4 separate regions of the Homo sapiens genome follow, and all the other regions are linked to region 1. Evidence: promoter capture Hi-C in human tissues and cell types (Jung and others, 2019). All regions are on one chromosome and are shown on one strand. Each heading gives the region's core, a stretch centred on a gene start or on the middle of the fragment in contact. The rest is flanking DNA. Distances are from core to core; before and after follow the strand shown. Region 1 holds the start of ALOX12B (arachidonate 12-lipoxygenase, 12R type). Region 2 holds the start of ODF4 (outer dense fiber of sperm tails 4). Region 3 overlaps ARHGEF15 (Rho guanine nucleotide exchange factor 15). Region 4 overlaps CNTROB (centrobin, centriole duplication and spindle assembly protein).

Region 1 (7,647 bases), core at 5,000-7,499:
TTGCGCCTGGCTGCCAAGCATTTTAAATAGAGCTATGTATTTGTTTTATTTATTTATTTATTTATTTATTTATTTATTTATTTATTTATTTATTATTCTTTGAGACGGATTTTCGCTCTTGTTGCCCAGACTGGAGTACAATGGCACGATCTCGGCTCACCGCAACCTCCGCCTCCCGGGTTCAAGTGATTCTCCTGCCTCAGCCTCCCGAGTAGCTGGGATTACAGGCATGCACCACCACACCACCCCGGCTAATTTTGTATTTTTAGTAGAGACGGGGTTTCTCCATGTTGGTCAGGCTGGTCTCAAACTCCCAACCTCAGGCGATCCACCCACCTCGGCCTCCCAAAGTGCTGGGATTATAGGCGTGAGCCACCGCGCCTGGCCTGTTTCATATTTTAAAATGGTGTATGCAAAGGATCTGATTCAATGACAGAGACGTGATAGCTCCTCAGTAAGTGACAGCTGCCAGTATTATTGTTGGGTGCGCAGTGCAGGCCCCTTTGACCCTGGGGTTGGAAGCAGCAGTGAAAAGGGCATGGGCATGCTCAGGCACCCTGTCCCCCAAGAGGATGAACACTCCTTGGGCCTCCACAAAGGCAGCATTAGTAGGCATGCCTATCCTGAAAAATGCCCCTGAGCCGGAGAGGGAGGGACCAGGGCGGGTCATTGGAATCTGGTTTTCCAGAAAGGCAGCTTGGAAAGAGATTTATTGGGCAGACACACCTGGTACACTTAGGATGTCCTGCCCTGACTCTGGGGACAGGACATGGGGAGGAGGCTCACATCAAGTTTCTGGAGCCCTGTGAGGTCAGGAGCTCCCCTCAGCTTACACTCTGCCCTCCACTGTTTTTTGGTCAGTCTAAAAGGTCAACTGGTATAATGGGAAGCACACCAGCCTCCTTCCCCAGCTGATCTTGAGCAAGTCCCTCGGCCTCAGTGGTCCCAACCTGTCAGATACATGAGTGGGACGAGAAGACCTGAAAAGCCCTTTCCAGCGTTGACATCCTAGCATCGCTTTGCTTCGTGGCTCTTGTCTGCCTAGATGCTGTTCTAGATTTTGGGAGAGCAGCTGTGAGCTCCCCAGGCACAACCCCTTCTTTCACCCTTCTTATGGGTGCTGGAGAGACAGACAATAAACGCATCAATAAACAGATAAAGATCCTTTTGGGCGGTGGCAAGTGCAGTTGGAGATACAACCAGGTGGCAGGGTAGCATGATGGAGGGCGGAGGGCGGGGAAACATGAGGGACGGTGGTCAGGGAGGGACTCTGAGGAGGTGACACTAGAGTTGAGACCTGGATGACATGAACAACACACGCTTAGGGTCGGGTGCGGTGGCTCACTCCTGTAATCCCAGCACTTTGGGAGGCTGAGACAGGCAAATCGCTTGAGCTCAGGAGTTTGAGACCAGTCCCGGCCACGTGGCAAAATCCCATCTCTACCAAAAGATACAAAAAATTAGCCAGGTGGACTACGCCTGTGGTCCCAGCTACTCGGGAGACCAAGGTGGGAGGATCGCTTGAGCCTGAGAGGTGGAGGTTGCAGTGAGCTGAGATTGCACCACTGCACTCCAGCCTAGGTGACAGAGTGAGACACCGTCTCAAAACAAACAAACAAACAAACAAACAAACAAAACCACTCTTGAAACAGCTTGAACAGCTTGGTTGAAACAGCTTGAACAGCTTGGGGGAAGGGTATTACAAACCCAGGAATGGCAAATGCAAGGGTCCTGAAGGACACATGTTCTGGGTACAGCAAGAAGGCCAGAGTGGCTGGAAAAAGGTGTCGGGAAGGCATGGTCTTGTAGACATGATAAGTCCTTGGATTCGTCTCTTTTCTTTCTTTCTTTCTTTCTTTTTTTTTTTTTTTGAGACGGAGTCTCTCTCTATTGCCCAGGCTGGAGTGCAGTGGCGCTATCTTGGCTTACTGCAATCTCCACCTCCCCTGTTCAAGCGATTCTCCCGTCTCAGCCTCCTGAATAGCTGGGATTACAGGCGCGTGCCACAACGCCCGGCTAATTTTTGTATTTTTAGTAGAGACGGGGTTTTACCATGTTGGTCAGGCTGGTCTTGAACTCCCGACCTCATGATCCGCCTGTGTTGGCCTCCCAAAGTGCTGGGATTATGGGCATGAGCCACCGCGCCTGGCCCTTGGATTCATTTCTACGGACAACCCCATTTTAAGCTCTGGTGAACTTTAAGCAGGGGAGTGGCGTGATTTGATTTTTCTTTCTCTGTGTCTTAGGAGAGTGGGTCCCCAGGAGTTAGTTGCTCCTTGCCTTGCAGGGCTTGGGGTGGGGTCAGGCACGGGGGATACCCCAGCAGTGAGAACTCAGCTTCCTGTGTGGATGGCCCCTAGTTAGCAACCCCAGTGAGTGTGAATCCTTCCCAGAAACCTCTCCTCCTCACTGGCTCCCGCCCCTGGTCCAGGAGAACCAGTTCTTCAGCCCAATGAGCACCTATCAAGAGTCACGCGTCTACGTTTTGGTCATAGCTGGGGAGTGCCCCATCTACATCCTCATGCCTGATCCCGTCCCTGTCCCTGCCCCAGCCACATTGACATCCTCAGCATCCCTGCCTCCATCTCCGTCTCCCTCAGGAACCTAATTCCCACTCCACACTGGAGCCCTGAGCAAACCCAGGGCCACCCTGGGATTTGGGTTGGAGGAGACCTATTGGTAGCAGGATATGACTCAGTTTGCCCAGTCCACTGCCCTGCTTCTCACCAAGCCTCAGCAGCCCCCTGGGGACACAGGGCAAAGGGGAGAGATTAGAAAGAGGAAGCTGGGAGAATTTGCATGGAATTTGCATCTTAAGATTTGCATCTTCAGGCTCCCAGCATCCTCCAAGAGTCATCGAGGTGGTTGAGGAGGGAGATCCCAGGGGGGAGATCCAGCTGGACGGCTTCTGTCTGCAGCCCAGGACAGCCAGCCCTGCCACCCAGAGCTGGGCACAACCCTCATCCTCAGCCTTCTCCCCTCTCCTCCCTCCCTCCCCACCCAACCCCTTTCCCTCCCCTACACCACGCCTTGCCCCTTCTCTCACCCTGAGCCCAAGTCAGCTCTCTTCGGATCTTCACCATAACTCCAAAGCCATCATCGATTCAATCCCCAGCCCTGACCTTGTCCTTGTCATTAACCCATTCAACTATGTTTTCGGTGTCTCCCAGGTACCAAGTATGACACCAGGAGATGGGGACAAAACCAAAAAAAAGTATGGACTAATTTATTAGAGAAAACAGACATCAATCAAAGATGTTAGCTATAGTGCTGTGAGAGCCATGTATAGTGAAATTTGGCTTTCCTGGAAAAAGCAATTATTGAGCTAAGATCAGGAGGAAGAGGAAACGTGACCTCAGTTTGAGAGGTAGAGAGGGAACAGCATGTGCCAAGGCCCTGGGATGGTGACGAGCTGACTTCACTTCCTTCAGGTCTTTACTCAAAAGTCTTCTTCCCAAGGAGCCCTCCTTGGCCACTCTGTATCTAAAATATCCTCCTTTTCTTTTTTCTGAGATGGATTTTCGCTTTTGTTGCCCAGGCTTGATAGCAATGGCATGACCTTGGCTCACTGCAACCTCTGCTTCCTGGGTTCAAGCTATTCTCCTGCCTCAGCCCCCGAGTAGCTGGGATTACAGGCATGCGCCACCATGCCCGGCTAATTTTTATTTTTAGTAGAGACGGGGTTACTCCATGTTGGTCAGGCTGGTCCCGAACTCCTGACCTCAGGTGATCCGCCCACCTCAGCCTCCCAAAGTGCTGGGATTACAGGCATGAGCCACCATGCCCGGCACTCCTCTATTTTTTATATTATCCTTCCCTGTTCTCTCTTTTCTCTTCAGCACTTATCACTATTTAACATACTATTTAATGTATTTGGTTACTAGGTAATATTGTCTGCTTCCCTCACTTGAAGGCAAGCTCCATGGGTGCAGGGGTTTGCTTTGATCGCATTGTATTTTCAGGACCTGACACAGCGCTGAACACACAGTAGGGGTTCGGCCAGTGTCTGTTGATGAATGAATGAAAGGCACGTGGTCCCAGACAGAAGAGAGCAAAGGGGAATGTGAGGGGTGAAGCCAATCAGGCAGGCCGTGGGGGCCACGGGAGGGGATGGTGTCACTGTCCCAAAGGTAAAGAGGAGCCACTGCCAGGCTTGATCAGGGTTGGGAGGAGGGAACATAGAGAGTGATGTGAACAGATTTGGGTCTGGAAAAGATCATTTCAATCCCCAACTCCAGCCACATCTGTGTCTCTAACCTAAACCTGAATTGCAGTTTCGACCCCATTCCACATCCAGTCTGGAACCTACTGGAACCTTCTCTTCATCTCACAATCCCAGCCCCCTCTGACCCTAACTTGGCCTGGGCATTGAATGACCTTCCTTCGATGGTGATGGAAGCGTGCCATCAGGGAGGAAAGCAGGGCTATGCTTCCTGGTTGACAGAAGCTGCTCCTCGGAGGTGAAAGGAAAGAGGACAGGTCCAGAAAAAGGGAATAGGAACGTGCCTGCCTCCTCACTCTCCCTGGGTCCCAAATCCTATCTTTGGAGAGTCTATCTCTGACTCTCTCATAATGCTCTTCACCTTACTCCTAACACCTTCTCCCTATCCTGCGGCTCTGACTTCTGTGATTCTATCAGCAACTAGTTCCCAATCCCAACCTCCCACGCTTATTTTCTTCAGAGCACTTAGTATCCAAAATTATAGTGAACAAATTCTTGTTTACTGTTTCTTTCACTTCTTTCCCAGCTATTCCGTAAGCTCCATGTATGTTTCATTTCTTCTCTGCCTCTGCAGTGCCTAGAACGCCGTGCACCGTGCTCACTACATATCTGAGGGAGGAACGACCTGGTTCCCAACAAACACAGTTCCACTGGAGCTCAGCCCTGCCTCCAGCCCTCTTCCTAGCTTCATTCTTTTTTGGGAGGGAAGTGAGGGTATGTACTTTATGAAATTAAAGGATAACACATAATGAAATGAATGAAGTACCCTAGACGCCCCTCAGATCAAGATAAGAACACCTCCAGCAGCCTATATGGCCTCCCTCTGCCAGGGATACTCACCAGTAGAGGTTGTCTGAGAATTGCTCAGTTTTGCTGGTTCTGGAAGTTCCTATCAATGGATAACAGAACGTATCCCCTTTAATGTCTGGCTCTTTTTGCTCAGTATCATCTTTGTGAGACTCATCCGCATTGCAGTTCATTCTTTTTATTCCTGGGTAGAATTCTATTTTATGATTATACCACAAAATATTGATCATATTAATCCATTATTTAACTTAATTCTTTTGTCTTTTTTTTTTGGAGACGGAGTCTTGCTCTGTTGCCCAGGCTGGAGTGCGGTGGCACGATCTCAACTCACTGCAACTTCCGCCTCCTGAGTTCAAGCGATTCTCCTGCCTCAGCCTCCCAAGTAGCTGGGACTACAGGCGCATGCCACCACGCCTGGCTAATTTTTGTATTTTTAGTAGAGACAAGGTTTCACCATGTTGGCCAGGCTGGTCTCGAACTCTTGAGCTCAGGTGACCCACCTGCCTTGGCTTTCTAAAGTGCTGGGATTACAGGCGTGAGCCACCACGCCCAGCTATTTAACTTAATTCTTATGCCCCAGATTTCACTCTGTCTTCTAATTTAGTTTTTTTTTTTTTTTTTTTGGGCTTCTGATTTTATATCCAACTCCAATCCCTCACCAGTGGATCCTGGCCCCACAGGAAGCAACAGATCCCCTTCTCCTACCCTGATCGTTCCTCCCCGCAGCATCTTCAGGCCTTTGGGCACCCATGTGGTCCCCGAGCCCTAGCTTCAACACCTCCCACCCTTCCAGTCACAGACTCTGGGCCCTGGGGCAGAAGGACAGGCCAGCTTTCTCACTGTGGCCACTACCTGTCCCATTTCCCAGAGAGGAATGGCCTGGAGGCTGGCCAGCTGCGCTGCCACTTAGTGCCCCTCCCCCTCCCCTCCCCCGCCCACCAGTGGCCTCAGAACCAATGCAAGTCACTCACTGCCCATGGCCCTGCTTAGTAGGGGTGCCTGGCACTGTAGCCAATGGGGACTGGCAGGAGGAAGGAGCTTATTAGTCTGATAAAGATCTGGGGACCACACCCTGCCCCCTCCCGCAACTTCCCTAGGGCCCTGGCTCAGGCTGGACTGGCTCCCCCACCCTGAAGGCGCCTTCATCCACGGCATCTTCTATCCGCCCTTTCAGAGGCAGGCCCAGTGCCCTGCCTGCTCTTCCTCCCCACCAGCTCCCAGAAGGCTTGGAGCCCAGACACCTGCTCACTCACCACCAGCTGGGCTCCGCCTGGGCCTGCCCGGCACCCACCCCGGCCACCAAGGGCAGCAGCTTTTCCAGAATTTGGCTGGCAGGCCTAGTCACCCCACCTCGCCACCTCACCACTGCACCTCGGAGGCCAGCCCTGTCCACTCCACTCTGTGCCTGGCTTCTCTTGCCTGCCTTGGGCCTTCGTGTGGCCCCTCCACGGTGTCTGGGACTGAGTGCCCCTCTTGCCTCCTGAAGAGCAGCCATGGCCACCTACAAAGTCAGGGTGGCCACAGGCACCGACCTCTTGTCGGGAACACGGGACTCCATCTCACTGACCATTGTGGGGACACAAGGAGAGAGCCATAAGCAGCTGCTGAACCACTTTGGGAGAGACTTTGCAACTGGGGCGGTAAGAGTGTGTGTGTGTGTGTGTGTGTGTGTGTGTCTGTGTGTGTGTGTGTGTGTGTCTGTGTGTGTCTGTGTGTGTCTGTGTGTCTTTGTGGCCCCGGGAGGGGTGAAGGTGCGCAGGGGGAGCCAGGTGAGCTGAGCTTGGCGAGGAGAGGCTGGAGAGCTGAGGCACAGCTCCGAAGGCAGTGGGCTCCCCAGTGGCTCTACACGCCTTGTCCAGAGCTGGCTTCCAGCCCCTCGCCCATGTCCCAGATCTCTGGGCCATCCTTCTCCATCCTGCTCCTTCATCTCTAACCCTTTCAGGCATTCCTCATCTCCCTCCCCATCCTTTTCTTCTCTCTCCCTCTTCCTCAGCCCTCTCTCCCTGTCTCTGCCTATCCTGCATCTCTCTTTTCTCAATCCTTTCCACCTGCTTTCCTTCCCCTTTGCTCTCCTCCCCTTTCTGTCTTACCCCCTCTCCCGCATCCCTCTCTCTTCCATTCTCAGTCACTCTTCCTAATTCAGCTGCCTCCTAACTGTCTCACATTTGCACTGGATTCTCTGTGACTTAAAATGGCATCAGACCAGCCTGTCCAGTGGAAGGCACGCTTTGCGGGTCCTCAGACCTGATTTTCAGTCAGACCCAGCCACCTGCTGCTAGGCGACCTTAATAGGTCACTCTATCTATGTGGCCATTCTGAATATCTGCATCTTCATTGATGAATGGGAGAAGGGGCTGGCTGGGCCTCTCCCCACTCGAAAACTGTAGAGTGGTACCCAAGTCCCCAGGGGTCTGAAGGGTTCCTGCAACCTCAGGTGCCTGGAGAGGGGAGTGGGAGAAGACAGGAGCTGGGGATGGAGAGAAGGAGGGGCTGGAGTCCTACATAGCCCTGGGTAGAGGAATCCAGTAGGAGACCCCCAAGCTGGAGAAGTCAGAAGGAAGCTCAATGATCAGGTCAATATCCTGTCCCTCCGTCAGTCCAGGGAGGTGAGCATTGCG
Region 2 (7,647 bases), core at 1,466-3,965, 250 kb before region 1:
GTTTGGCCGGATGCGGTGGCTCACGCCTGTAATCCGTGAGCCGAGGCACTTTGGGAGGCCGAGGCAGGCGGATCATCTGAGGTCAGGAGTTCAAAACCAGCCTGGCCAACATGGTGAAACTCCGTCTCTACTAAAAATACAAAAATTAGCTGGGCATGGTGGTGGGCGCCTGTAATCCCATCTACTTGGGAGGCTGAGGCAGGATAATCGCTTGAAACCGGGAGGCAGAGGTTGCAGTGACCTGAGACCGCAACTGCATTCCAGCCTGGGCAACAAAGCAAGACTCTGTCTCAAATAAATAAATAAATAAAAATAAAAAGCCTGGCTGTCTTTGAGTAACTCCGTAGAGCAAGGCGCCTATGTGAGTTTTAGAGCCAGGCACACCTGAGTTGCAATTCCAACCCTGCCATTATTAGGTTGATCCATGTGAAATTCTCCTTTTGTAGGTGAAAAGCAGTCAAATATTAGCATGTCATTTGGTTCAATCTAAATAGCTTTATGACCCTGAGCAAGGTACTTAATCTCTCTGAGTCCCAATTTTCTCATCTCTAAAATAGGGATAATTATCCCTATCCCTTAGGATTGACTAAGGACTAAATTGAACAAATGGAGTAAGTGTACAATAAAGGATAGCTTTTGTTTCCCCAAATTTATTATAATAAGGACATAATATTTTCATAATGCTTTCATAATTCATTATATGAATATTTTCATATTCATATGATAAGGACATAATACTTTCAGAAAATAATAGCTGTGTGATTTTTTTCATGCTAAGGAGAGTGAAAAAATGGAAATAAGGGTCAAAAGCTCTGGTTTTCCCCAGGAGCAGGGAAAGAACTCCAAATTCCTGAGGGGTGAGGGAACAGCATAACCAGAGACTAACAACAATAAGAACCAGGTGTGGTGGCCACGGCCTGTAGTCTGAGCTTCTCCGGAAGTTAAAGCAGGAGGATCCCTTGAGCCTGGAAGTTCGAGGCTGCAGTGAGCTATGATTGCACCACTGTACTCCAGCCTGGGTGACAGAGTGAGACCTTGTCTCTAAAAAAATCAGCGAAACAAACAGAAAAAAACAAGGATGAGGAATGAAGCAGCTGCAAGAATTCAGGGAAAGAAGGAACACAGAAGCCAGATGTGGAAAAAGGAAAATGATCCAGAAAAGCAAGGCCTGAGGCAGAAGGAAAGGAGAATGTGTGGGATCAGGGCCTGAGAGGGGACATTGCAAGGAGTCCTCTCAAAGCTCTGGGTACACAAGACTAAGGAAACCCCCATCTCACTGGGGCTCTTGTCCCTGGTAAATTAGGCGATTAATGAATGATTCTCTTGTGCTGAGTCCATGCCCCTCGTAACTTTTTTTTTTTTTTGAGACAGAGTTTTACTCTTGTTGCCCAGGCTGGAGTGCAATGGTGCGGTCTCGGCTCACCGCAACCTCCACCTCCCGGGTTCAAGCAATTCTCCTGCCTCAGTCTCCAGAGTAGCTGGGATTACGGGCATGTGCCACCACGCCTGGCTAATTTTTTGTATTTTTAGTAGAGACGGGGTTTCACTATGTTAGCCAGGATGGTCTCGATCTCCCAACCTTAGGTGATCTGCCTGCTTTGGCCTCCCAAAGTGCTGGGATTACAGGTGTGAGACGCAGTGCCCAGCCTGATTTTTTTTTTTTTTTTTTTGAGACAGGAGTCTCACTAAATTGCCCAGGCTGGACTCAAATTCTTGGGCCCAAGCAATCCTCCCACCTCAGCCTCCTGGATAGCTGAGACTACAGGTGTGCAGCACCATGCCCAACTCTCTCACAGCATTCTTAGAAGCACAGATTTGGCTCTGGGTTTTATCAAAAGCAGTGACATTTTCCATTGCACCAATCAAATCTATTTAGCCAGGCTACAGGATGAGAAACGATCATCGGAGGTCTCAGTGCCAGTGGAACCATCTTGCAGGCCAAAAAGTAAAGATGACCAGAAAGAGGGAACAAGAATACATCCAGGGTGCAGATACAGAGGCCAAGACAGGCTGGCGGCCTGGGCTGGGATGGGGGGTGGAGGGGCTCACCTTTCCCATTCTCTAAGTCAGAACAGCTCCTGGATTTGTAAAAGTGCAGGAGCCCCATGGACATAACGTGGGCTGATGTGTGGATTCTGTTGCTGACATCCACGGGCCAGCGCTGGTAGAAGAGGCTCCTAGAGAGGTCCAGCCATTTCTTGGAGAAGGCCACGACCAATAGTAGGATAAAGGCAACCAGGCTGAGCTCAGAGGCCAACACCTGGGCCATCCAGCGGAAGCTGTGTGTGATTCTCCATTGAAAGGGCAGCGGAGAGTTCTGGCGCTGGCCCAAGGACCTGTTACTACTGAGGGAGAGGGTGGAGGACAGCAGTCTCCCATCTTGTCCCAGCTCACCTGTGCCCCATCCTGCCTCCCCACTCTTCCTTTCCTTTCCAGGTCTCTGATGTTGGTCTCTTTCTCCTTCTGACCTGGGGAACTCATTCCCAGAGTACTCTGCATCCATCTTGAGCACCACTTCACCCTCTGTCTCCCCTTTCCCTCACCAGACTCAATTGTCTCTTCTCATCTTTTGGATATTTTCATCAGCTGCCACCATGCAGCCTGAGGTCTGAGAAAGAATGAGGAAGTCTAATAACAGACCTCGATCAAATAAGAGACTCTTGATCCAAGAGAAGGCCCCAACCCATTCAGCAGGCCAGGTCCCCTAACTGCCACGGAATTTTCCTGGGGCACAGTGAGATGGGGGAGGGAAGCCAAGTCTTCAGCAATTTTTTTTTTTTTTTTTTTTTTTTTTAGAGAGAGAGACAGGGTCTCCCTCTATTGCCCAGGCTGGGATGCAGTGGCACAACCTTGGCTCACTGCAACCTTGAACTCCTGGGTTCAAGTGATCCTCCCACCTCAGCCTCCTGAGTAGCTGGGATTACAGGATTGTGCCAGCATGCCTGGCTAATTTTTCAATTGTTTGTAGAGATGGGGTCTTGATATGTTACCCAGCCTGGTCTCAAACTCCTGGCCTCTGCCAGGCACGGTGGCTCACGCCTGTAATCACTGCACTTTGGGAGGCCGAGGTGGGTGGATCACCTGAGGTCGGGAGTTCGAGACCATCTTGACCAACATGGAGAAACCCCATCTCTACTAAAAATACAAAATTAGCTGGGCGTGGTAGCACATGCCTGTAGTCCCAGCTACTCAGGAGGCTGAGGCAGGAGAATTGCTTGAACCTGGGAGGCGGAGGTTGCGGTGAGCCGAGATCGCACCATTGCACTCCAGCCTGGGCAACAAGAGTGAAACTCAGCCTCAAAAAAAAAAAAAAAAAACTCCTGGCCTCATGAGATCCTCCCCACTTGGCCTCCCAAAGCACTGGGATTACAGGTGTGAGCCACCTTGCCTGGCCTGTGGCTCCAGCTCTAACTCTTTCCGGAAATCCTGTTTCTCAGGCCACAGCTCAGAACTGTGGATCTGACACCTCCCTCCAGCTTCTGCCTCCCTTTACATATGAGCAATGGTATGTGAGAGGCCCTCCTGTGGTCTGCATATGGTTAATTTGTCTTCACCAAACCTCATGCTGAAATTTGCTCCCCAGTGTGGTGGTGATGGGAGGTGAGAGGGCCTAGTGGGTGGTGTTTGGGTCATGGGGGCAGATGCCTTGTGATTGGATTAACGCCTTCCCTGAGACCTCACTCCATTAGCTCCCCGCAATAGCTGGTTGTTAAAAAGAACCTGGCGCTGTTACCAAGCAAAAGTGCTCGCTGCCAGATGTGCATAGAAGCCAATACTCCAATACTAGGGCACTAGGTTTTGAGAAAAGGAAAGCTTTATTGTGAGCTGACCCACGAGGATACGGGAATCCAGCTCAAATCTGTCTCTCTTTGCTGGTCTTAAGGCAGTACTTTTATTAGAAAAGGTTTAGGGGGAGGATTCTGGGATTAGCGGGTGATTGGTGGAAAGAAAGGAGAAGTCTAGAAAGTCCTTAATCATGTCTGGTTATCTCCAAGGTTCTTCGTGGGTTGCATGTGCAAATTTGGTGGCGTTAGTATGAAACAGCAGGTGGAAATTCAGGCTGTGACATCAGCAAGCTCGTTCTGTGCGGATTGCTGTCAGCCATACGGGTTCCCACTGATTTCAGCCAGTCCTGTTATAAGCAAAGGGATTTTTCAGCATTTCAGCAAGCTGTTTCTTAGCTGCCATCCTGTAAACTCGAAAATGTCTGTTAATCACTGGTTTATTTAACTGTTTGGGGCACAGTTTCAGCTCCTCCCTTACCTTGTGATCTCTGCACAAGCCAGCTCCCCCTTGCCTCCACCATAAGTGAAAGCAGCCTGACGTCCTCAACAGATGCCCAATCTTGAGCTTTCTGGCCATCAGAATTGTGAGCCAAATAGCCCTTTTTTCTTTATAAATTATTCACCCTCAGGTATTCTGTTATAGCAACACAAAATGGACTAGGACAGTCCCCTTTTCTCTTCCTAGTTCCTCTGCCCTAACCCCAACCCCAAATGCTCACTGATGGAGCAGGGGGAGGGAGCAGGAGCTTATCCCCAGGAAAAGATCCTCCCTCCATTGTTCTTTGGACATGTCTTGCAAAGATGTCATCGAGCTTCCCATTGCTTTCCCCAACCCTTCACCTCCCTCCCAGCTCTACTCACTGCTAGTCAATCACCACCAGTTCCTTCCCTCTTCTTTTGACTTTTCTTTTTCCTTTCTTTTTTTTCTCAGCACCAGAAAGAGGAGGATGTAGGATGAGAATGGGTCCTAGAGGTGTCATGCCTTCTGAGATTGTTATAATTTTATTTATTTATGTATTTATTTATTGAGACAGTCTTCCTTCATCACTCAGGCCAGAAGGAGTCTCTGTCTAAAAAAAAAGAACATAGGCTTTGGGGTCCAACAGGCAAAGGTATGAAAAATGGGTCTTCCCCGCCTTTTTTTTTTTTTTTTTTTGAGATGGGATTTCACTCTTGTTGCCCAGGCTAGAGTGCAATGGCGCCATCTTGGTCAGCTAACTGCAACTTCCGCCTCCTGGGTTCAAGCAATTCTCCTGCCTCAGCCTCCCAAGTAGCTGGGATTACAGGAATGAGCCACCACGCCCAGCTAATGTTTTGTATTTTGTAGAGACAGGATTTCACCATGTCAGTCAGGCCGGTCTCAAACTCCTGACCTCAGGTGATCCACCTGTCTCAGCCTCCCAAAGTCTTGGGATTACAGGTGTGTGCCACCACATGCAGCCGGGTCTTCCTCTTAATAGCCCTGTGAACCTGGATGTCATATAGCTTCCTTATGCCTCAGTTTACTCATCTGTAACACAGGAACAATATTTTTCTCATAGACTTGGTAAGAGTGCTGAATGAGATAATGATCAAAAAGCACTCACTAGTTCATAGTAAATTCCCAGCAACTGGTAATTATGTTGTTAAATTATCATTTTAATTGTTTTTACAGTCTTTCACTAGCAAACAGGGAAAGAGCAAAAATGCAGAAGATAATTCCTGGCAAGCATCCTTGCCAGTCAGTGGCATCTGCAAATCATGGAACAGATTAACTCTCCAAATTAACTCTCCTTGTAAGCAAAAGGAGAGTGAACTATGAATCCTGATGTCACCTGTGCAGTGGGACCTCAGGAATGGTTGAAAGTTGAAATTCAAAGCCTGTGAGGGCGCTTCTTCTGGCTGTGGTCTCTGCCCCTCCCTGGGCGTCTTCCTCTGTCTCTGCAGACCAGCCTCTTCCTCTGCTCTGGTCCACATGGTGGGAAACATGGCCCTCACACTCCAAGCTGTGTATCAGACCCCTCCAGCTGCTGGAGGGGAGACCTCTCAGTCCCAAGTCCAAGCATTCTCTGGCCCTGCCAGGGACGAGTGTCATCCTTAGAACAAGCAGCTACAGTTGGGGCACTGGGTCAGAAGACAGAATCTTTTTTTTTTTTTTTTTTGAGACAGGGTCTCACTCTGTCGTCCAGGCTGGAGTGCAGTGGTGCAAGCTCCGCCTCCCGGGTTCATGCCATTCTCCTGCCTCAGCCTCCCGAGTAGCTGGGACTACAGGTGCCCACCACCACGCCTGGCTAATTTTTTGTATTTTTAGTAGAGATGGGGTTTCACCGTGTTAGCTAGGATGGTCTCGATCTCCTGACCTCGTGATCTGCCCGCCTCGGCCTCCCAAAGTGCTGGGATTACAGGCATGAGCCACCACACCCAGCCAGAAGACAGAATCTTGAAGATGGGAGAAGGAGGGGAGAACACTGGGAGAGGGGGTGGTGGGCCTGCTGGGAATGTCATTTACACAGAGCCAGTGTCGTCAGGATTGGGCTTCCTCCCTCGAATCCTCTTTAGTTTTTAAGTTTTTCCTGGAGTTTCTTTTTTTTTTTTTTTTTTTTTGAGACGGAGTCTCACTCTGTCCCCCAGGCTGGAGTGCAGTGGTGTGATCTCAGCTCACTGCAACCTGTGCCCCCACCGGTTCAAGCAATTGTCCTGCCTCAGCCTCCCAAGTAGCTGGGATTACAGGTGCCCGCCACCACGCCCAGCTAATTTTTTGTATTTTTAGTAGAGACGGGCTTTCACCACGTTGGCCAGGTGGGTCTCAAACTCCTGACCTCGTGATTCACCCGCCTCGGCCTCCCAAAGTGCTGGGATTACAGGCATCAGCCACTGCACCCAGCTTTTTCCTGGAGTTTCTAAGGGTTTTTAATAATAAGCATTTCTCACAGCAACACACAACACAGAAGAATCTTGGAAATAGAATGTTTCCTGAAAAATGTAACCCCCAGAAGACTACACAGTACATATGATGCCATTTTTATAGAGCCTATAACCAAGCTCAACAACCAATGCATTGTTTAAGCTTATGTAAGCTTATGATTGCATGGTAGTTTTTAAAAAGCAGTGGCACAGTAAACATGAAATATCATATGATGGTTACTTCTCAAGAAGGCATAGGAGTGAGATGAGGAATGTTACACGAGCACATATGCATTATTAATAAGAGTCTAGTTCCTGAGTTGGGTGATAGGTGCAGGCATATTCTTTTTTTTTTTTTTTTTTTTTTTTTTTTTTTGAGACAAATCTCGCTCTGTCACCTAGGCTGGAGTGCAGTGACACTATCATAGCTGAACTCCTGAGCTCAAGCAATCCTCCCACTTCAGCCTCCCAAGTAGCTGGGACTACAGGTGTGGTGGTGCACCTGGGCTCAAGCGATCTTCCTGCCTTGGCCTGGGATTACAGCTCGTGCTGGGATTACACGCACAAGCCACTGTGCCTGGCCAGGTATTTATTATATTATAATCATTTACAGCTAACATAGATTTCATAATATCTTGTGAATGTATCAAACATTGTCTTTCAGAAGGTAATTACAAATAGTTCAAGAAAGGAAATGTAATCTAAGTGATTACTAGCTCTGCAACAAAAGATATTTATATAGTCACAATGTATAAGGTAAACACTGTTCATTGCCTTTCAACTCTTAGAATCAACAGATGGACAAAGCAAGGAAGACTTAATTATAGCCACAAAAGTAAATGTAACTGTCATTGGCCTTGATGTTGCACAAGCAAAAGCCTAGAAGACGGAGACTGAAAGGTGGAAGGAGGAGAAGAGAGCTGAAGGGAAGCCATCCACTAGTAACACAGGGAGAATTGACAAATTTCCTAGCTTCCTT
Region 3 (7,647 bases), core at 5,148-7,647, 230 kb before region 1:
GGAAGTGGGCTGGAGGGTTCCTTGCGGGTGGAAGGAGGAGGAGAGAGCTAGTGAGCAGGCTTGGGGGCCGGGGCGTGGGGGGAAGAGGGCGAGGCTCCTCTCTTTCCTCTGTTGCTTGTGGGCATGATTGCAACCCCCACCCCCGTTTATCTGCGATGTTGGCCACTAAGATCTTGACCCGGAGCCCACAGAAGGCCAGCTCAAAGAGAGGCCCGTGCCCTTTACTATCTGCCTTATCTTGTAGGAAAAGAAAAACTTTTTATCTGAGGGGGGCAAGGCTTTTAAAATTATCAGGCCCATAGAGAGGATCGCTTGAGCCCAGGAGTTCCAGACCAGCCTGGGCAACATGGCAAAACGCCGTCTCTACAAAAAATACAGAAATTAGTCGGGTGTGTTGGCTCCTGCCTGTGGTCCCAGCTACTCAGGAAGCTGAGGCAGGAGGATCGCTTGAGCCCAGGAGCTCGAGGCTGCAGTGAGCCAAGATCGTGCCACTGCACTCCCGCCTGGGTGACAAAGCCAAATCTTGTGACAAAAAAAAAAAAAAAAATCAGGGCCAGAGAGGAATTAAAATGAGACAACAGTGACATCCCATTACCCCCTTTGAGCTAGGTATTCACCTCTTTAACTGCTTGCATTGGCTTGCTCTTGCCATAAGTAGCTATGAATTAACCTGGTAATGCCACACTGGACACTATAACCCACCCCCTATAGCTTAACAGTATATAGCCAATCACTAATCAAAGAGCTTCCTTTAAACCAATGAGAATTCCTAACAACTTTGTATCAGCCCACAGCCCACTCCCTGTCCCCCTTTTTTGCCTTTGAAAACCTGCTTGTAACAAAGCCCTAATGGAGCTCATATCCAAGGTTACTTGGGTCTGAGTCTTCCTGGCAGCCGTCCTCCCTTTGTCTTTCGTTTGTTTTTTGTTTTTTGAGACAGAGTCTCGCTCTTGTCACCCAGGCTGGAGTGCAATCACGCGATCTTGGCTCACTGCAACCACTGTCTCCTGGGTTCAAAGGATCCTCCTGCCTCAGCCTCCCGAGTGGCTGGGATTACAGGCGGGCACCACGACACCCGGCTAATTTTTTGTATTTTTAGTGGAGACGGGGTTTCACCATGTTGGCCAAGCTGGTCTCAAAGTCATGACCTCAGGTGATCCACCTGCCTCGACCTCCCAAAGTGTTGGGATTACAGGCGTGAGCCACCATGCCCGGCCCCCTTGGGCTCAAGTAAACTCTTTCAACCATATTTTGTGCCTCAGCCTCTTCCTTTTAGGTTGACAATTGACTCCCAGAATATGGAGGCTTCAGCTATGAGGAGCAGGGCCACGGGTGAAGAGTGTCCACACTGACTCAGAGAAAGGTCCCCAACTGGGGCCAGCTTTCCCACCCTGTCGCCTCAGGCATCTCCCCCCGGGGACGCCTGCACCTTTCCTGAGCCTGTGGAAATGTTGGTTTCTTCCACCTCCCCAGCATGATAGACTGTGAGGGAATAAGGTGATAGTGGCTCTAGGACTCCCCAGCTGACTCAGTGAACCTCTCTGTACTACCCCCACCAGCATGCCTGGAACGCAGACAGGGCACCGCTGAGAGGTTTCTCCCATGGGCCCTCCTACGCCACCTATGAGGAAGTTGCAGGAGGCAACCCAGAGGGGCAGGAAGAACACAGAAGGGAGGGGACACTGGACACCCATAGCAGAGATGCCTGAGGGAGAGGGAGGGAGACAATTTGGAATGAGCTGAGTTACCTCCTGCCACCTGTCCTGCAACACCCCCCATCAGCCTCCCTCTTCTGTCCTCTTTACCCCATCCCCATTCCCATCTTCTGTCTATCCACGCTCTCCTTGCTGTAGTCCTCATTCCCCCACATCCGTTCCTTTCCCATATAGCTGTGTTTCATGCCCTTCGGCCCCCTTAGACAGGCCAGCAGAATGCAGACCCCTCCAGGACAAACACACTCAGGTCACCCCAAAATGGAAAGCAGGCTCTGAGATAACAGAATCCAACCCCCAAAAGTCAGGAAACATGGCAGTCCCCTCCCTTCCTGTCTTCTCAGTCTCTTTTGGAACATATGGTTGTATTTTATACACCTTTATGTCCCAAAATAACCCTTACCTGGTCGGCATCTCCCCATTATCCCACCATCAGAACATCTGAATTGGAGCATGGGGGCTTCCTTAGTGGCAGGACTCCAGTAAGGGATGAGGAGCCAGGAGAGAAGGTGTATGGGGCACGTCTGCCCCCGGATGTCTGTCTGTCTGAGTATCCCAGTGTGTCTCCATCTTATGCCAAAGAGGGAGGGAGACCTTGGTGGGGAGGGGCTCCACCTACCAGGACACTTGAAGGGGCACGTGCACCAATTCCCATCCCCACTACCACTACCTTCTGTTCCTGGACTATCGCCCCCTGTTGCCTCCATTCGAATGCTCTTTCCCCAGATCTTCCCAGGGCTACTTCCTCTGGAAGTCATCTGGGTCTCAGTTCAAATGTCATCTCTTCCAGGATCTGCCCTAAAGCCACCACCCTCCCCCAAAACATACACACACAACATTCTATGCCACAGCCCTTGCTGTATTTTCTGCTTACTGCTTACTGATTTTATCTTAGTGCTGTTTTTTTTTGGGGAGGGGAGGGTTTGTTTTGTTTTGTTTTTTGAGATGGAGTTTCACTCTTGTTGCCCAGGCTGGAGTGCAATGGTGCCATCTCGGCTCACTGCAACCTCTGCCTCCCGGGTTCAAGCGATTCTCCTGCCTCAGCCTCCCGAGTAGCTGGGATTACAGGCATGCGCCACCATGCCCGGCTAATTTTGTATTTTTAGTAGAGACGGGGTTTCTCCATATTGGTCAGGCTGGTCTCAAACTCCCAACCTCAGGTGATCCACCCGCCTTGGCCTCCCAAAGCGCTGGGATTACAGGCATGAGCCACTGCACCCGGCCCCTGTTTTGTTTTTATGAGATGGAATCTCGCCCTGTCGCCCAGGCTGGAGTGCAATGGCGCTATCTCGGCTCACTGCAACCTCCTGCAACTTCTGCCTCCCAGGTTCAAAGGATTTTCCTGCCTCAGCCTCCCGAGTAGCTGGGACTTACAGGCATGTACCACCATGCCCAGCTAATTTTTGTATTTTTAGTAGAGACAGTGTTTCACCATGTTGGCCAGGCTGGTCTCGAATTCCTGACCTCAGGTGATCCACCCGCCTCGGCCTCTCAAAGTGCTGAGATTACAGGCATGAGCCACTGCACCCGGCCTAATTTTTGTATTTTTAGTAGAGACAGGGTTTAGCCATGTTGGCCAGGCCGGTCTTGAACTCCTGACCTCAAGAGATCCGCCCACCTCAGCCTCCCAAAGTGCTGGGATTACAGGGGTGAGCCACCATGCCTGGCCTGATCTTATCTTACTTATTAATTTGTTGACATGGTAATTGTCCCTGTCACCTCTCACCCTCAGGATGAAGGCTTCCTGAGGGCAAGGACTTTGTCTTTTTCATATCTGTATCCCCAGATCCTAGAACAATGCCTGGCACATAGAAGGCACTCAATAAATAGGTATAATTGAATTAAACACAGAGATGATTGGCTGGTCAGTAAAGGGCCTTTATCGCTGCCCTTTTTTTTTTTTTTTTTTTTTTTTGAGACAAGGTCTTGCTTTGTCACCCAAGCTGGAGTGCGGTGATGCGAACATGGCACGTTGCAGCCTCGACCTCCCAGGGTGAAGCTATCCTCTTGCCTCAGCCTCCCGAGGAACTGGGACTATAGGCGCATGCCACTACACCTGGGTAATTTTGTATTTTTTGTAGAGACAGGGTTTCATTATGCTGCCCAGGCTGGTCTCAAACTCCTGAGCTCAAGTGATCTGCCCACCTCGGCCTCCCAAAGTGCTGGGATTACAGGTGCAAGCCACCGTGCCCGGCCCTGACTGCCCTTTTTATCCTTCTTGCTGCATTCTCATCCCCTGCCAAAGCCCCAGGCATTGCCCAGCCTGCAGCAGCCCCCAACCACAGCTGTTGCAAACCCACCACCATCGCCACAACCACCACCACCTGAGATCCCTCAGGAACTGTGAGTGGGCTAACACACTCAGGTCTAGCACATGACCTTCAAGCCCCAGTTCCCAACAGAATTGACCCCTGCTCTGGACCCCTTTCCAAGCAGCCCCATCCCCTTATAAACCATGCTTGGAGACCACTGCTCCTATAAGCACACACTTCCTCAGAGAGCCTCAATACAAATGCACCACTATTTACTGAGGGTTCCCCACACGTCAGGCACCCTGCTAGGGGAGTCTCCAATGTCATGGACATGCCAAATGCCAGTGCTCTTCGCCCTCTGAGTCTCCCGGAGTCCCTGTGCCTCCTGCAGTCAGGGTGACAGTGTCAGTCCTGGGCAAGTTGCTGTGCCTGAGCTGAAGGGGAGGCCTCGTCCCGGGCCTGGGCCCCCCTGCCAGCCACTGTCTGCCTTGCTGTCTCTGTCCCTCGCCTCCTCTGGTATCATGCGAGGCACTGGCTCATCTGGAAGCAGATGCTCTGGATGGGGTTGGGCAGCCACACCCGCTCTCCAATCTCTCCCCACTGTTTGGCCCAGTGTTTCTGTGAGAGGATCAGGACAAAGGCAAGAAAGCCCAGGAGGTTCACTGGCTGGCCTGTGGTCCACAGCTCCCGTTTCTTCACCCAGATGCAGGATCTAATGTGGTTCCAAAGCTCAAGGCTGAGGCTGGCTGGTGGATTATAGTTCAAGTTGGGAGATCTGCAGGCAGGAATTATGGAGGCCAGTGTTTGGGGCAAGGAGAAGGGTCTGCAGACTTCAGGGGCCTCAGGACCCAGCTACTGGCCATCTTCAGTCCCTTGGGCTCCTCTGCCAGGCCGTTGGCTGCTCCATAACATTGCCCTGCAACTGCCACAGAACCCTAGCCTCCAAGAGACCCAAAGCTCAGGGCTCTCATCCCCTGGGTGCCAAGCCACACCCAGCACAGTCTCTTCTGGAGCTCAGACTTAGCATCTTTCTTGGAGCGAATAATAGGAAAAATGGGGGGTAAAGGAAGAAATGGAGCACTCAGTCATTTGTGGGTCAGGAGCACAATCACCACACACACACCACAGTCAGCAGAATGCCTTTCCTGATACATATACACACATATCTACACATGCACATGTACACACACAGATTTTCTGAGACACATACTCTGAATTCTTCTGGAAGAGAAGAACTGGCTTGAGAGGGCACAGGAAGCATCCAGGAATGGAAACTAGTATTTCCCAGACTCAAAAGACAGGACCAGTCATTGCTGCAGAAACAAGCAGGGTGACTACTGGTCTCTTGGGTCCAGATCACCATTTTCTTTGGCTGATTGGCTTCCTGCTCATTCCTGTTCCCAATTTTATCCTACGACTTTATCTCCAATGAGGCCCTTTTTCAACTGCCATGACCTAGATTTGTCTTCCTTGGCCCTGAGCATAGCAGGAATACTCATTGGCCATAGGCTCAGCCAGCTCAGTACCCATTGGCTGCTCTGCACTAAGCCTCTGTCTCCATTGGCCACACATTCAAGGCATCCTCATTCATTCTTATTGCTGTGGGTTCAGGCGGCCGTTTTCATTGGCTGCTCTGTCCTGAAGCTCGATCTCTATGGTTGCCACGAGAGGTAGTATCTCCACTGACAGTGAATCCAATGGATGAATGGGCTTTGTTCTCTCCGTGCCACACTGGTAGGTGTCTCCCAACATGTGCCCCCTCCTCAGCCTGCATTAGGGTGGGGGGGCATTGGGGGTGCCTGAAGAAGATCCAACAGCCTCGAGAAGCCTCTGGTTCTGGCGAAGGTGCCTCCTCCTTTCGTGTTCCCCTGTGACTTCACACACCAGCTGGGCAGGGAAGGCCCCAGGAAGCCCCTTCAGCCAACCTGGGGGAAGAGAGACAGAGGCTCCAATGAGGTGGGGGCAGGGAGCAGGTGAGGAGGCAAAGGGGGCCTCGTGGGGTCTCAGGCCTTCAGGGTCATTGTAGGTGTGGGAATTCATGGACAAGCCTGGAGCATCGGTAGAAAGGGCATCAGAAGTGGAGGTGACAGCAGCTCGGAGAGAGTCTGGGCTGCTCTTCCGTCAAGCCCTGCAGTGGCTGCTCATGTCTCTTGGAGTAAGAGGTGGAGTCCTTGCAGAGACCTGTCAGGTCCTGCGTGATCCCATCCCTGCCACTTCTATGACCTCATTTGCTTCTCCCCCTTTCTCTCTCCTGCTAGTCACACTGGCCTCCTTACAGTTCCTCAGTCACACACCAGCCGCAGGGCCTTTGCACTGCCTGCTGCCTCCAGCTGGGACACTCTTCCCCCAGACACCATGGGCCTAAATTAGCTCCATCAAGCTTCATGTTGCCTTCTCAGTGAGGTCCACCTCGGCCTCCCTATTGAAAATTTCAGTCTGCCCAACCCTGGAACTCCTGACCTTCTTTGCTCTGCTCACTTTTTTTTTTTTCCATAACACTCATAACCTTCACATGTACTTTATAATTTACTTATCTATTTTGCTCATTCTTTATCGTCTGCCTCCTCTGCTAGAACGTAGCTCCAGCAAGGAAGGAAGTGTGATATATTTGATTCACAGTCCCTAGAACAGCGAGTGGCACTTTGTAGGTGCTTAATAAATATTTATTGAATGAATAAATGAAACACGGCCAGGCGCAGTGGCTCACGCCTGTAATCCCAGCACTTTGGGAGCCTGAGGCAGGAGGATCACTTGAGCTCGGGAGTTCAAGACCAGCCTGAGCAACATAGTGAGACCCCCCACCTCCATTAAAAAAAAAAAAGAATAGAAATAAGGCCTGGCACCAGAGGCTCATGCCTGTAATCCCAGCACTTTGGGAGGTGAAAGGGGACGGATCACCTGAGGTTAGTTCGAGACCAGCCTGGCCAACATGGTGAAACCCCATCTCTACTAAAAATACAAAAATTAGCCAGACGTGGTGGTGGGCACCTGTAATCTCAGCTACTTGGGAGGTTGAGGCAGGAGAATCCCTTGAACCCAGGAGGCAGAGGTTGCAGTGAGCCGAGCTCACACCACTGCACTCTAGCCTGGCTGACAGAATGAGACTCTGTCTCAAAAAATAATAATAATAAATACAAAATAAATAAATGAAAGACTTTCTCACCTTCAGGGGTCTTGTGCAGGTGTTTGGGGGCAGCCCTGGACTCCAGACTCCGTCCTTCAGTCTTGGCAGGTGCAGACGACTCTGAACACAGTTCCTGGGAACAGTCTGGTTGGGGGTGGGTGACATTAAAGTGATTCTGTTTAGCTTCTCCCCCATATTCCTCTAAGACTCGCTTTTTCTTCCCTCATCCCCTCTAGGGGGATACTCACCACAGTCCTCATAGATGGTGTCTGGGGAGCAGGGAAGGGGGCCTGGGGTTGGGAAGGCTCCCAGCCAGCGCTGCATGTCTGATCTGGTGGGGATATTGGGAAGTGTCACAGTTGGCCCAAAAGATCCTCTGGGGCTGAGGCAGGAGCCACAGAAGAGAGAGACTGGGGAAGTGGGGGAGGTCTGAGAGGTCAGATAAGTGTCCCAAGGTTGTTTTCTGAGGGAAACACAACTCACAGGGAAGAAGCTTGGAGTAGTCGGTGGGTGGGGCGGCCCTGGTGGTTGCTGAGAAGGGAGAGGCGGAAGGTAGGGG
Region 4 (7,647 bases), core at 3,092-5,591, 150 kb after region 1:
GAGACCCTGTCTCAAAAATAAAAATAAAAATAGAACATAACGGAGAAGCTTAGCTCAAGGGGTAAGGCGTACTGGAGGGTTGGGCGGCGGGAGAGTGGTGCTGAGCAGCTGGTTGGCCTCATCCCAGTGGGCCTGCAGCATGGCCTGCAGTCTTTCCACCAGCTCCACCCGCTGCTCCTCCAGCTGCTGGTTCCCACTCTGCAGTTCGCACACTCGCGCTTGCTCCCGGGCCAGTCTGAAGCAAAGAGAGAAGAAGTGACTCAGGGCCTTTAAGGAAGCAGATACTTGGGAGCTAAAAAGAGCCAGAAGGGAAATGTTGGACATCTGATATTCTGAAAGGAGCTGGGGCCCATGTAGAGGAGGACAGATCAATCAAGGGAGCAGCTCTTCACCGTTCCCAGTTTGGGCTCTACCCATGGGAAAGGGGCTGGGGCCTGAAAGGGGCACTCTGGGGACCAGGACCTGAGCTCGTAGTCCTCAGCCACCTGCTGTTGCCGTTCCTCTCGTTCTGCCATTTCCACCTTGAACTGAGCTAGCTGACTGGCCAGCTCCTGCTGGTGCTGTCCACTCAGGTCCTGCAGCTGCTTCCTACAGGGCACAGGTAGGAGAAGAGGCCTGAGACTGGAGACAGAAGAAGTGACCAACTGAGAAAAAGACATCATGTGTGCACATGACAGTGACCCAGATAGCCAGTCAGCTAGCCTGGCCATGGCACAGGAAGCGGCAAGGACAAAGCTGGGGTCTTAGGATGGGTTCCTCAGAAGCAGAGACTTAAATAAATTTATTTCGGAAGCAGTTCCAGAAAATCTCGGCAGCAGAATGGGTGTGAGGAGAAGTGAGGCCAGGCTGCGAGGAGGCTCAGTCCGACAGAGCAGCTCTGGAGACAGCACAGGTCATACCTCAGCACTGTCCCAGTGAGGGAGCTGGACCATCTATCATTCTGCACCCATCAGTTCTTGGTTAAGGGCTACTCCCTATGGGATGAAAATTCCCAGGCACTTCTGGCTCTCCATGAACGCGTGAAGGCAGCCCTCCCGAGAGAGACTCAGGTCCCAGCTGATGGGAGTTAGCGCACCCTGGGAGTCACAGTGCTGGACCATGGCAAAGGGATTGAAGGGAACACAGGCCTGGCACTAACGATACGTGCTGTGGCTGAGAGAAGTGACACCCAGTGAGTCCCACGTACCTGTGATGTTCCCTGAGGGAGGCTGCTTGCCGTAGGCTGCTCTCCTGAGCCTGCGCCAGCCGCTCTGTCACCCGCTGCTCCAGCTGCACAGCCAGCTCCGACTCCAGCTGGATCCGCTGGCTTTCATACCGGGCCTGGAGTGAAGGAAGGTGGGATAACGGCCCAAATCTGTTTGGGCTTAGAAGAGGATGGAGGATATAATGTAGACAAAATCCAGTACCAACTTTCCCCTCATATGAGATGAAGAACAAGAATTTTGCCTCAAGGAGTGAAAGAGGTTCCCTTTCCTTATTAAGATATTCGCACTTTAAACATACATCAAAGTGAAAATGACTATGGGTGAAAGACATAAATTTCTTAGCTAAAATAAATGTTCGACAGAGCAATCAAATCCATTCTACGTGTCTGATATAACATACCCTGAGGCTGGGCGCGGTGGCTCACGCCTGTAATCCTAGCACTTTGGGAGGCCGAGACGGGCGGATCACGAGGTCAGGAGATCGAGACCATCTTGGCTAACACGGTGAAACCCCGTTTCTACTAAAAATACAAAAAATTAGCCGGGCGTGTTGGCGGGCGCCTGTAGTCCCAGCTACTTGGGAGGCTGAGGCAGGAGAATGGCATGAACCTGGGAGGCGGAGCTTGCAGTGAGCCGAGATCGCGCCACTGCACTCCAACCTGGGAGACACAGCGAGACTCCGTCTCAAAAAAAAAAAAAAAAAAAAAAAAAAAAAAAATACCCTGAGTAGAGTACCTGAAAGCCAGTAGACATTCAATAAATGGCAGTGCCTCTTCCTCCTTAAGCAGTCAACCTATAAGTGTCTCCATTTTCTCAGCCACAGTCCTTCAACTCACTAAAATCTGATTTCCACGTATAGTATTTTACTATAAAGAACTCAACCTCTTTTTTTTTTTTTTTTTTTTTTTTGAGATGGAGTCCCTCTCTGTCACCCAGGCTGGAGTGCAGTGGCGCGATCTCGGCTCACTGCAACCTCTGCCTCCCGGGTTCAAGCAATTCTCCTGCATCAGCCTCCCAAGTAGCTGCAACTACAGGTGCGTGCCACCACGCCCAGCTAATTTTTTGTATTTTTAGTAGAGACGGGGTTTCACCGTGTTAGCCAGGATGGTCTCAATCTCCTGACCTCGTGATCCACCCGCCTCAGTCTCCCAAAGAGATTACAGGTGTGAGCCACCGCGCATGGCCCAAAGAACTCAATTTCTAAATCCAAATAGTGGTTATTTCTCAGCCCCTACTTCTGAGACAGAGTCTTGTTCTGTTGCTTAGCCTAAAGTGCAGTGGTGTGATCATGGCTCACTGCAGTCTTGACCTCCCAGACTCAAGAGATCCTCCCACCTCAGCCTCCAGAGTAGCTGGGACTACAAGCTGGTGCCACAACACCCAGCTAATATTTTTATTTTTTGTAGAGATGGGGTCTCATTATGTTGCCCAGACTGGTCTCAAACTCTTGGACTCAAGCAATCCTCCCACTTCAGCCTCCCAAAGTGCTGGGATTACAGGCGTGAGCCACCACACCTGGCCCTTTCTGTCTTTTTTTTTTTTGAGACTCGGTCTCGCTCCTGTCACCCAGGCTGGAGTGCAGTGGTGTGATCACGGGTCACTGCAGCCTCTACTTCCAGGGTTCAGTTGATCCTCCCACCTCAGCCTCCCGAGTAGCTGGGACTACAGGTGCATGCCACTATACCCGGCTAAGTTTTTGTATTTTTAGCAGAGTTTAGGTACTGCCATATTGCGCCCAGGTTGGTCTTGAACTCCTGGGCTCAAGCAATCTGCCCGTTTCGGCCTCCCAAAGTGCTGGGATTCCAGGTGCGAGCCACCACACCCGGATGCTTTCTTAGTCTTTATCGCATGTGATCTCATTGTAACACCTGAAGCCCTAGGTCAATTCTTTTTTTTTTTTTTTTTTTGAGATGGAGTCTCACTCTGTTGCCCAGGCTGGAGTACACTGGTTCAATCTGGGCTCACTGCAACCTCCACCTCCCGGGTTCAAGCGATTCTCCTGCCTCGGCCTTCTTAGTAGCCGGGACTACAGGTGTGCACCATACACCTGGATAATTTTTGTATTTTTAGTAGAGACAGGGTTTCACCATGTTGGCCGGGCTGGTCTCAAACTCCTGGGCTCAAGTGATCCACCCGCCTTGGCCTCCCACAGTGCTGGGATTACAGGCATGAGCCACCATACCGGGCCAAAGGATTGTGGTTCTCAAATGCTGGCCTCACTGGTACCTCCTTAAGTTAACCATTTATAAGGAACATAGCCTCTCAGACTGGCTTGCACCTGGAAAATTCATCAATTTGTCCTTACACATTTTATACATAAAAACAGAGGCCCATAAAGGTCAAAATTCTAGCTAGAAGTAGACGTAAGTGCCCTAAGTCCTAATGCAATACTCTTTCCTCTTCAACGCTGTGTCTCCCCCATGGGCTGGAACACAGCTCTCTCCAATCCTTTCCTCTATTCTGGAGATCGGCGAACTACAGCCCAATTCAGCCCTCCATTGCCTGTTTAGATAAGTTGTACTAGAACACAGCTGTGCCCATTTGTTTACGTACAGTTTATAGCTACTTCTGTGGTATAACAGCAGAGTTGGGTAGTTGCAACTGAGACCATACAACCCACAAAGCTAAAAATATTTACTGTCTGGCCCTTTACAGAAAAAGTTCGCCAACTCCTGCTCTATTCCATGGCAAGAGTCCGACTAGTTTGAATTTAAAATTCAGTGTGTTAGCTAGATGGAAAGAGTTTTTCAAAGTGTAATTATATCTGACAAACAATTTTTGAGTACAATTCTGTGCCAGGCCATGTGCTGTTATGGAAGTTTCATAAGTAAATTAAAAAATCATTGCCCTCCTGGGTCCCTGACCTACTCAGAGAAATTAATACAAGTTATTCAAGTAATGAGAATTACAAAGCACACTGTTACAATTGGAATCAAGTCTCTGACAAAAGCTTTCACCTGCTCTGTCAACCCACTAAGTGTGGTGTCATCTCTTAAAATAACATAAGGTATCTTTAATAGATTTAAATCTATTTAATCCTAAAAGTAACACTAGGTCAGTCTGACATATTGTGGGAAATGGTCACTCAGTAAGAAATAGCTCTGAGTTTAGGACAGAAAACTACCCATACTACATAGAAACTGTTAATGGAATTAAACCCCAAACACCTGAACTGGGAGTGTCTGCCACAACTCCTGAGAGGTCCCTCTGCCTCAGATCTACTTCTGTCAGAACAAAACCTCAAGAAACCTCTGCCTTCTGACCTGCACCAAGCTCATTTCCAGCTGCAGGGCATCTCTCTCTCTCCGAGCTGTATCCAGCTCTCCTTCCAGCCGCCGCACCTCAGACTGCACCAATGCCAACTGGTGCTGGGTCTCCCAGGCGGCCTGGGCTTCCCTCTGGCTCTTCTCCTATGAAAGACAAATCAAATGTATATACATACCTCATTTCTTATCTCCTGGTTACCTACACTCCCCAGTTCATCCTCCCAAACCCTAAAATCCAAGCTTCCCCCAGCTCCTCCCATTTGTTTTATTTCCCCATCCCTGTTGAATTTCAGTCTTTGGCCTTTCACGTATTCATTACCCCCAGCCCTTCCTGCTGGCCCTATACTCTCAACCTTGTCTCCCACACATGGCTCTCTACTCTCCATTCCTGCCTATATGTATCCCCCATATTCTAACATTCCATCCCATTCAATTATTTTGCCCTTCATCTACTCCCTAGTTCCTCAGCTCTTCCAACTGCCACTTTTACCTTCTCCCTTTCCAGCTGAGCCTGGCTCTCCTCCTGCAGCGCCTGGTAGTGTTCCTTAAGCTGGTGCTCTTGCTGGGCCCAGGTCTGCCGTTCTTCTTCTAGGGCAGCCCGAAGAGTCTCCAACTCTCGATGCTCACTCAGTTGCCCAGCCCGAGCTGCATCCCGCTCTTCCTGCAGGACACAGCACCGCTGCTGTTCTGCCTCCAACCTCAGAGTCAGAGCTTGCCTTTCCTCCTCCTACAGCCGCAGAAGAAAACCAAGCTCCTTAGTAGGCTCTTCAGAGACCAGCGATCTGCCCTCTGACCCTCATACAAGGTGCCTGCTGAGAATTATGCTCATTAAAAACACAATAATTAGGCCGGGTGCGGTGGCTCACACCTGTAATCCCAGCATTTTGGGAGGCCAAGGCAGGCAGATTACCTGAGGTCAGGAGTTTGAGACCAGCCTGGTCCAACATGGTGAAACCCCATCTCTACTAAAAATACAAAAATTAGCCAGGCGTGGTGGTGGGTGCCTGTAATTCCAGCTACTTGGGAGGCAAAGGCAGGAGAATCGCTCTAACCTGGGAGGTGGAGGTTGCAGTGAGCTGGGATCACACAACTGCACTCCAGCCTAGGCGACATCGAGCAAGACTCCATCTCAAATAAAACCAAAAGAAACCCCACAATAGTTGACAGGCGCAGTGGCTCATGCCTGTAATCCCAGCACTTTGGGAGGCTGAGGCAGGCAGATCATCTGAGGTCAGGAGTTTGGGACCAGCCTGGCCAACATGGTGAAACCATGTCTCTACTAAAAATATAAAAATTAGCTGGGCATGGTGGTGCACACCTGTATTCCCAGCTACTCAGGAGGCTGAGGCAGGAGAATTGCTTGAACCTGGGAGGCGGAGGTTGCAGTGAGCCAAGATTGTGCCACTGAACCCTAGCCTGGGCAACAGAGCGAGACTCCATCTCAAAACAAACAAACACAATAGTTGACAAGCTCATAGGATTATAATATAGTAGATAAGAGTTCCTGTTCCAGAGCCAGGTAGACCTGGGTTCAAATCTCAGGTTCGAATCCTGGTTCTGGAATTTACTATGTGTTCTTAGGCATACATTCTTATCTGTAAACTGGAGATCATAACAGGGTCTGCCTTCTGAGCATTAAAGTAAAAAGCATATGTAAGGCATTTAGCACGGCATCAGGCACATAGTAAGTACTCAATACACAATAGTTACCACCATCATCGTCAAAAGAAATTCCACTAAGACTAGAATATCCAGCCTATAATCGTGAACCATCACCCATCATCATCAGGACTGTCAGATATAGCCTGTTAAGACTACAAGTACCAGCATGCATGTAGCAAGCATGCATTATGCATGCAACAAGTTCCAATCCCAGCTACTAATTCATATGGCTAATCACCTTATCATTTCAGCTCTAAGAGACTTGAGTGAAGTGGCTGGGTATGGTGGCTTATGCCTGTAATCCCAGCACTTTGGGAGGCCAAGGCGGGCAGATCACTTGAGGTCAGGAGTTTGAGACCAGCCTGGCCAACATGGCGAAACCCCGTCTCTACCAAAAAAATACAAAAATTAGCTAGGCGTGGTGGTATACGCCTGTAGTCCCAGCTACTTGGGAGGCTAAGGTGGGAGAATCGCTAGAATCCAGGGGGCAGAGGCTGCAGTGAGCTGAGATTGTGCCACTGCACTCCAGCCTGGACAACAGAGCGCGACCCTGTCTCAAAAAAAAAAAAAAAAAAACACGAAAAGAAACTTGAGTTAGTCAATTTCATACCTTTTTTGGCCATGCCCTACACCAGAGGTCCCAAACCAGATTGAAAAAAATCACCCAGGAAATTTCTGAAAAGATTTGAGTTCCACCATATATCTACTGAATCAAAACCTCTGCAGGTGAGTCCCAGAAATCTTTATTTTATTTTATTTTTTATTTTTATTTTTTGAGATGGAGTCTCACTCTGTCACCCAGGCTGGAGTGCAGTGGCTTGATCTCAGCTCACTGCAACCTCTGCCTGCTGGGTTCAAGCAATTCTCCTGCCTCAGCCTCCCAAGTCGCTGGGACTACAGGCATGCACCACCATGTCCAGCTAGTTTTTTGTATTTTTAGTAGAGACGGGGTTTCACCATGCTGGCCAGGCTGGTCTCAAACTCCTGACCTCATGATCTGCCTGCCTTGGCCTCCCAAAGTGCTGGGATTACAGGGGTGAGCCACCGTGCCTAGCCTATATTTTAAAATAATTCTTCAGATGACACTAATATTCTAATGATGATACAATTTGCAGAGTTTCTCAAACCGACTTGGTAGCAGAGCCTTTTTTTTTAATAGAATATCTAGCTGAATTAGTGTTCTAAGGAACACACTTTGGGAAACAGTGCTCTGGTGCAACTCAAATTATAATCTCCCACAATCCACCAATAGCCCACAGCTCTCTAGAAGTAATTAACAGCTTCCAGTGGAATTAACCCAGTCCAATCTTCTCACCAGTGTCTCTCTTTCCCGTTGCTGCAGTCTGGCACTTTCCTGCTCACGATTCAGGGCCTCCATGGCCTCAGAAAGGCTTTGTTCCAGGCGGGTTACTGTCTTTCAGGAAGAGAGGAATACAGGGCAGAGGAACTGTGGGAAATCTGTGTGTGCTATATTTTATAAAGCATTGACAATGTAAACTTGAAACTTCACAGTT

What was found. Contacts are between HindIII fragments. The study calls those that stand out against the background at their distance.
Region 2: a contact is called between the fragment with the promoter of ODF4 here and the fragment with the promoter of ALOX12B in region 1, in 2 of the 25 tissues and cell types used here (lymphoblastoid cells and small bowel).
Region 3: a fragment that was not itself captured here is called in contact with the fragment with the promoter of ALOX12B in region 1 in 2 of the 25 tissues and cell types used here (lymphoblastoid cells and spleen).
Region 4: a contact is called between a fragment that was not itself captured here and the fragment with the promoter of ALOX12B in region 1, in 1 of the 25 tissues and cell types used here (lymphoblastoid cells).

What each region holds. Positions count from the first base shown.
Region 1 is chr17:8,086,318-8,093,964 of GRCh38, reverse strand. It overlaps ALOX12B (arachidonate 12-lipoxygenase, 12R type), which reads left to right and starts at 6,249. Exons shown (of 15, transcript NM_001139.3): 1 at 6,249-6,669. The coding sequence starts at 6,523. MIR4314 (microRNA 4314) reads right to left here and starts at 5,909; the gene lies at 5,818-5,909. RefSeq lists a silencer at 1-46 and an enhancer at 6,473-7,221. The HindIII fragment of the contact is 32,393 bases long and covers 1-7,647 here.
Region 2 is chr17:8,334,908-8,342,554 of GRCh38, reverse strand. ODF4 (outer dense fiber of sperm tails 4) reads right to left here and starts at 2,715. Exons shown (of 3, transcript NM_153007.5): 1 at 2,050-2,715. The coding sequence starts at 2,503. It overlaps LOC124903916 (a long non-coding RNA gene), which reads right to left and starts at 4,498. Exons shown (of 2, transcript XR_007065607.1): 1 at 4,264-4,498; 2 at 3,797-4,132. The HindIII fragment of the contact is 12,554 bases long and covers 1-5,322 here.
Region 3 is chr17:8,319,084-8,326,730 of GRCh38, reverse strand. It overlaps ARHGEF15 (Rho guanine nucleotide exchange factor 15), which reads right to left. Exons shown (of 16, transcript NM_173728.4): 13 at 7,572-7,647; 14 at 7,337-7,419; 15 at 7,128-7,232; 16 at 4,220-5,889. The coding sequence ends at 5,738. Among named protein-coding and RNA genes, the nearest start is that of ARHGEF15, 13 kb to the right of the region's middle. The HindIII fragment of the contact is 6,503 bases long and covers 3,146-7,647 here.
Region 4 is chr17:7,937,064-7,944,710 of GRCh38, reverse strand. CNTROB (centrobin, centriole duplication and spindle assembly protein) reads right to left here. Exons shown (of 19, transcript NM_053051.5): 7 at 7,449-7,547; 8 at 4,962-5,198; 9 at 4,469-4,615; 10 at 1,187-1,320; 11 at 463-588; 12 at 73-235. Among named protein-coding and RNA genes, the nearest start is that of CNTROB, 8.7 kb to the right of the region's middle. The HindIII fragment of the contact is 4,478 bases long and covers 2,103-6,580 here.